2 separate regions of the Homo sapiens genome follow, and region 2 is linked to region 1. Evidence: promoter capture Hi-C in human tissues and cell types (Jung and others, 2019). All regions are on one chromosome and are shown on one strand. Each heading gives the region's core, a stretch centred on a gene start or on the middle of the fragment in contact. The rest is flanking DNA. Distances are from core to core; before and after follow the strand shown.

What was found. The method cuts DNA at HindIII sites, captures the fragments that hold promoters and counts their contacts. A contact is called where the count stands out against the background at its distance.
Region 2: a contact is called between a fragment that was not itself captured here and the fragment with the promoter of COMMD3-BMI1 in region 1, in 2 of the 25 tissues and cell types used here (hippocampus and mesendoderm cells).

The regions. Positions count from the first base shown.
Region 1 is chr10:22,314,092-22,317,727 of GRCh38, reverse strand. COMMD3-BMI1 (COMMD3-BMI1 readthrough) reads right to left here and starts at 1,340. Exons shown (of 14, transcript NM_001204062.2): 1 at 1,172-1,340. The coding sequence starts at 1,310. It overlaps COMMD3 (COMM domain containing 3), which reads right to left and starts at 1,340. Exons shown (of 8, transcript NM_012071.4): 1 at 1,172-1,340. The coding sequence starts at 1,310. RefSeq lists an enhancer at 793-1,092 and a silencer at 1,363-1,482. The HindIII fragment of the contact is 4,167 bases long and covers 1-1,718 here.
Region 2 is chr10:23,036,269-23,039,804 of GRCh38, reverse strand. ARMC3 (armadillo repeat containing 3) reads right to left here. Exons shown (of 19, transcript NM_173081.5): 19 at 1,282-2,535. The coding sequence ends at 2,326. The region is part of intron 2 of LOC107984215 (a long non-coding RNA gene); the gene reads left to right. Among named protein-coding and RNA genes, the nearest start is that of MSRB2, 58 kb to the left of the region's middle. The HindIII fragment of the contact is 3,149 bases long and covers 692-3,536 here.

The sequences.
Region 1 (3,636 bases), core at 91-2,590:
AGATCAAGTGAAAAACAATAAAAAGAACACAACAAGAACTCTACTATTACTAGCTTCAATTAACTTATTTTGCCTTAATATTTTTACTATTAAAAAATATTATAGCCCCCAAAGAAAATATAACAATGCAATGGTCATTCTAACACTGGAGTAAATTCAAAGGAAAAACAAGATAAATATTTTACATTGTGTCAATTTTAGAATAAACTTCCATCCTAAAAATGATGAGTTTAGGGTAACCGGCTCCATGAACAAATACATCAAGGGGGTAGAAGGTAGGGCATGAGTTCAGAATATAAGATACAAATTTCAAAATTATATTAGTACTTTCAGGGTTTGACAGTCATTTTTTTTTTGAGATTAACCCAGGTGGTGGTTACTATTTTCGTTTAAGAACTTCCACTTTCATACTTTTTGTACAAGTGTTTAGTTCATGAAACTACAGAAAAAAAACAAAAATTTGAATTGTTGGGATATTTATATTTAAGAAAATCATCTAAAAGCGATCGGTCTTAAAATATGTCTTCAATCCATACTGACACTGCACCTCCGCAGTCACTGACCGGATCGCTTAAAAGACACTCGCATCCTGGTAACTGGGGCGGAACAAAGTATTGTGCATCATAGTTTAAGGTTCTAGGCGTAGAACCTGTGTAAACATGCTGAACTAGAGCGCTGGAGTGATCATAGCAACTTGAGGTATGCTCTAAGTTGGCAAATGTCAACACTGTCTGACCTAGTAATTACTTCGGAAACAGACCCTTAAACCTTTGCTAGCCTAGCCCTGGAAGCTTGAATTGCAGGGAGCTCCCCAGATGAAGTCCAACTGTCAAAACAGCCGCAGCCTCAGACAAGGCTAAACACCTTAGATGTTTAGGCCACAAACAAGACTTGAACACCGGCTTTACAAAAGAACAAAGAGACTGGGAGGGAAACCGGGCCAGGAACGTGGAGTTGGCTCTATGCAGGTGCCAAGTGGGGCCAAAACAATGCTCAGAGTCTGCTCCGAGTCCTGGCAGAGCCACGTCCCCAACACTCCGTCCGGAGCGAAGGGCAAAGCCCGGAGACTTCCTCTTCCCGGGGCTTTCCCCTTCTCGCTCCGCCGGCTCCTCTTCTCCGAGCGCCCCTCCACCCCGGCGGATCCAGCTCCGAGCCGAGCCGAGCGGCTTACCTAACACGGCCTCGTCCGCCTGGGCGTCCAGCAGACTCTGGAATGCCGCCCGGAGGAGAAGCGTGAAGGCGTTGGAGTCGAAGGAGCGGGGATCCGCCAGCATCTGGAAGCCTTTCTGCACAGACTCCGAGAGCTCCATTGTGAGCGCGCCGTGACCTTCGACACGCACACCACGTGACACGCGCCGCGCGCTCAGCTGATGCGGCCGCGCGCGCACGCGGCTCGGGGCGGCTGGCGGCGGCGCGGGCTGCGGGGCCTCCCCGCCCGCCTCCGCGCCCGCGCGCGGGTCCCGCGCCCCCAGCCGCCGCCTACGGCCTCCCACCGTTTCCGTCCAGCTCTCGCTTGTCCAGCGCAGGCCGCGGGAGCTGCCGAGCCTTGGCGAGAAGGGCGGCCTCGGGCGTTTTGTGGACGCGCTCGGCGCTTTCTCCTTGGTTCGGCGCTTACCTCGGACGGCCACCAGCTCGGTTCCCTGAGAGACCCCGGGGAGACTGCGGACGGTGTCGGGATCCCGGCCCCCGCCTCCCGCAAACGGCGTCCTCCCCGCTCCTCGCTCTGCGCGAATCCTGCGGGAAGCTCCGATCTCAGGCAACTGGATTTTGCTTTTGTGGTTTTTTGTTTGTTTTGTTTGTTTTTTAGCTCACCAGCTTAACCTCGCAGCACTGCCCTTTTATGAGACTGTAAGACATCTAATTATGTGATTCTTGCTTATTTTTACTTTTTTTTTTTTGTCATTTCTGGAATACGGCAGTAGTGTCCTTCCTGCATGGGGGGTGTGTACACATGCACGCATACATAGAGTTCCTGTATGCACTGCACTCCAGCAATCGGATTAATAAATTATTCATGAACAGATTTGACAGGATTATTAACAATTTTATATGCCGCTGCAAATAAAGCCAACTGCCATACACATTTTGTGCTACTCACCACATCTATGGGTCCCGTTTTAGTTGCTCTATAGAATCTGCATAAATACGTTTTTATTAAACAGCTACCTTAGTAAAGTACAGTTAGGAATGGCAAGATCTTTATTAGAAGTGAGTTACTGTTTAGGATGCTCATACCTTTAAAGATTCAAATACTGTATAAAGTTTAACTTCCTCTCTATTTCTACGAAGTTGGTTTAGAGAACAAGAATGATTCTTTAAAAAACCCGTGAAGCAAAGTAGATTAGGTATTTTTAATCAAAAGCACTTGAAAAGTTAAAAAATGCAAGTTCTTGAAGGGTGGAGGGAAGGGATGCGGAACAACAAAGATGTTTTAGTCTTCAGGAGCGATTATTTGCAACATTAGACCCAAAGTGAAACATTATTTTCTTTTTCTAACTTAGATGTCTGTTTTAAAAATTTTTGATGGATACAGTTGACATTTACCTTGGCACCAATACATAAAGTGTACCTCATTTCACAACAGGATGCAAATGGAGTAAGCATCAGTAACAGATTGAGTAACTACTCAGCCCTCCTTTGAAAGCTTTAAAAGGCACGTGCAGTGGCTCCTCACTCGGTGAGAATATAGTAGCAGTGAAGGATTTAAAAGTCTCCCTAGAGTCTTTATGAAACAAGCACCTATTAATCATGTTCATCTTTTCTTCCCATCACTCATCTTCCTAATTTGTTTCTCATTAGTAGTAAAATGTCAGTTGAAAAACTTCATGATACCTGATTACATAGAGAATAGTCAGGACAGAGTTGTGTAAATGTTCAACAATATTAACAACACCCAAGCTTATTATGTTTATTACACATGTATTTTATGACCTAGTGTAACGTTGATTATTAATACTCTAATAGAATTTGAGTTGATAACTCTAATACTCAATTTAGTGTCAAAAAAGAGAGTATTAATCATGGACATAGATTTTAAAATATTATTTTAAAAGAAAAATAAACACAAGTGGTTGTCAATTTGTGGGCATGAAAGTTAGGAAATTCAGAAGGATTGTTTCCATAATAGCTGTCATATTACTTTGTTGCCCATGTATAAGTACTTTCTCTTAGAATGTTTCCTCCTCTTAGGCCTAAGTATATTCATGTGTTAGGCCTAAGTGATGGGCACATTTTAAGCTCACAAAAATTTTCACCATAATGTGTTCTAATGCTAGAAAAACGGAATTTTCCTACTACAGGTATATTTATTTAAACTTCCTTTGAAGGAGGCACAGGATCGAGTGTTTCAAACGTGTGTCTTTGACAAGTCATTGAAATACATGGAAGTATGATCATCAAAAGGCATGACTACCCAGATGTAGACTCTCTTGGTTACAGCCATAAAGATCAATGCATTTTATGTTAGAAAAACTACATATGAACATATTCTGAAAGTATGAAAATACTGTTTAAAATTTTGCTTTACTCAAAACAGCATTGGAACTTTGACTAAACTTTAAAAAATTCTGCATGCTCAAAGCCAGTAAACTAAATTTGGCTTCCCAAAAGCCTTTTAAAAGAACAATTATGTGCAGC
Region 2 (3,536 bases), core at 1,017-3,516, 720 kb before region 1:
CGAATAGGCTATCATTTTTCCACTGGGCAAAAAAGCTACTTTTAACAATGCTAAATCCTACCTATATGTATGGATTTGTGTCTGGAGTCTTAATTTTTTTTAATTTTTATGCCTGTACCATCCTAAATTTGCTTTTTATTGCTTTTTAATACATGTTCTAATAAGTGAGACAATTCCTCTGTATTTTTCTATTTCAAAATATTCTTAGTTTTTATACACATTTATTCTTCTAAATACATTTTGCTGTTTGTCAATTTCAGAAAAAAAAGAAATGTGTTGGGATTCTAATAGAAATTATACTAATTTTAGATTTTAATATGGGGGACTGAAATCTTTTTACTACTGAATTTCCCATCAAAGAGCGTGCTGTTCCTGGAAAGGACATCTCCATTTATTCAAGTCTCATTAAAATTCTGTAGTTTTTCTTGCATAGTTCTTGTTAAATTTATTTCTATGTATTTTATAACTTTTGTTGCCATTGCAAATGTATTGTCTTTGTATAATTGGCTGATTATTAAATTTTATGGCTCTACATTTAAACCAAGTAAATCAGAAGAAATGAACTTTGAAAACCTGTATGAGAATTAAATTTAAACTATCTCTGTTCAGTAATTATCTAGAAACTAGTTGAAAGAGACATTGTACAGAATTGTCTCAAAGATTAAAAAAAAAAATCTTTGGCATGCACCAGATTTTAAAAAGTGGTGTATACCCGGGCCCTATCCTAGTAGCTCTGCATAGAACATTTGCCTAATTCCACTTTGATGTTGGGGCCTTGGCCTGTGAAACTTCTTTTCAGAACTTACCAGGAGGTTGGTTTTTGACGATGTTATTTTCTAGGTTACATTTTGCCATCTCTATGAATCTACCAAAGAGAAATTCCCCTGATATTTGTTCCACCTGAGAAACTGGTCTGTGCTTTTATCTAGCAGATCCTAGTGTAAATCCCATAATGGATAAATAACATTTCCCCTCACACTGGCTGCCAGTGAGTATAGAGTCAAATTTCCATTCATCTCTAACAAATGCACTGCATTTTATTGAATTCTAATCTTTGGATCCAAATCTTATTCCTGCTTTGTTGGACTTTTCTACACTTACGCCTGCATTTCATTTATTTTCTTTTTCCTTCTTATATCCCATGGATCTTTGTAATCCACTTTAAATACTTTCTGGATCAAAACAGACTTTAAAATGCAGAGGAAAAACCTACAAATAGGTTTGTATCCCATAAGCCACGCTCTAATTTCATAAAATTCTATGATAAATATAATTACCACGCCATTTGAAATAAATTTATTCTGAAATAAAGAATTATATTATTTGAAATTACAAATTAATACAAAATAATCTTAGCTTTAATTTCTAAAATCAAATTCACTTTAAAACGTCTTCTAGGAAAATGACTATACAGGTCAACACTGGACTTTAAGCGTGACTAGGCAATATGTACTTCACGAGATTAACCACATTAGTAGTTTTTGTCTTATCATTTGAAATGTGAATTTACTCCCCATTTTGTGCTCAATACTAAAACACAATTCCTCAGCAAAGATTTGCTCTACCTTTATGCTTCAAAGTTTTCCAAAAAATAAAAATTTTTTAGTTCTATAAATTGAAAATAATATATTAATGGCCCAGCATTAAAATGTGGAAGAGCAAATCAGAATTGTTTTTAGCTGAAGGTATGTTTCCAAGCTAACACAGACAAGATGAAACCAAAACCATTTTATGGAAATATACTTTAGAAATATTTTTAATTCACTATATTAAAGTGTTTTTAATGATGAATTTTTAAAAATAGAAACAAAAATTTTTAGAAAGGAATTTGTAACACTCAGATCTGTGTTTATTCTATCTAAACTATCAAAATCTTAAATGAAACTGAGACAAGGTGATTGCAAATACTAAAAATTCACTTAGTTTGCTTAACTGAGCATGCCTGAAGCATTCTGGGCATGAAAGATGACAGTCATGAGGCCACAGTGTTGTCCTGGGTGCAGCAGCTGAGTGCTACATGTGATTCCTAAATGACAGAGACGCTCCTCAGGACACAGTGGGCTGGATGAATTTCGACAACAATCAGCTTTATGTGAGGGTCAGTGAGCGGAAAATGACCTAATAAGACAGAACTCTTGCCAAAAGCCTGAAATCAGAAGCACAGCAAAGTTCACTCCAAGCTTCCTAATTTCTACGCAGAGAAAACATTTCTAATACTTTTATTTAAAGTTTTTATTTAAAGAGATAAAATCAATTTGGAGAATGTCTTAGAGAGTGTACACAGTGAATTTCTTGTTTGAGCCTCTCTTGTGTTCGTCTGATGGCTTAAATGAATCTGTAAAGATCAGCCTCTCGACTTCTCAACTTCATCAGTCCACCTGGATGGAACATGAGGTCAATCACGTACATCTCAGGAGCGGGGAGGCCCCCAATCACTCCCTTCCGAGAGTCATTCTGCAGCATGACTTCATTCCACGCTCTACCGTACTCTCCGCGAACTAGGGAGCAACCAATGCCAATTCTATCAGCCAGAGCCTGCAGGAGAAAACAAGAGATCAACCAAGGGTGGTGCGGGAGAGGGGTGGGGAATATCCTATTTGTAATTGCACACCTTGATTGAAGGTGAAATACACAAGTCTTGCAAAGAAATGTTTAGATAGGAGGCTGAAAGATGTGGACTATTGGTATAGGGGCCAATCAAATGTGATAAATTCACTCAAGATTCTGTAGATGCAAAATCTCTGTGTAGGTCCTGCTGGGAAGTCACCTTTTTCAGGTAGTAACACTATTGTATCAGATGGCGAGGGTGATTGGAAAAAAGCTATTCTGTGCACTCTTTGCACTAGTGCATCTATCCATCTTTCCAAACTTCTGGGCTCTCCCTGGCTGTGAAATGCAGTGGGACTGAATGGAGGCATCACCCTGGGGCGGGGGCTCTTTCCAGCTAAACTATTCTGCGTGCCATGGGGCAGGAGAGGCAGAACTGTGGGTGCCTGGTCCTAGGGCTCCTTGCTGCCACCTCACCAGAGACTACGTTGGTTCCTTGGAAACTGTCTCTTGAATTTGCCCTCTGATGATTCCTGATTTTGAGGTTATTAAAACAAAGTATCTCTAATCTGGAGACTACTCAGCCACTTTATAGTGAACAGGAGAGCTGGCTTAGCCTGCCTGGGTCTGGATTATAGCCCAGATCTGAGACCGACTAGCCGCGCACCCCAGCAAGGGACTTGGCATCTCTGGGCTTCCATGGCTTCATCTGAGAAATGAGGGGAGCAACAGTACTTTCTTCATAAGGTATTAGGAAGATGAAGTCAATTATCTGTCCAGTGCTTAAAGCAGCGAACACCAGCAAGGCTACATACTCAGTTAATACTACATAGCACCAGAAGGCAGGAATTGTGTTGTTTTAGAACCCTGTATATGTATATATTAATTTATTTATTACTGACAATATAATGACTGCACCAGGTCACTGTGTCTTGGGTGGACCATGATGATTAAGACATGGTTATCATTTTTAGAGCCTTACATTCTAC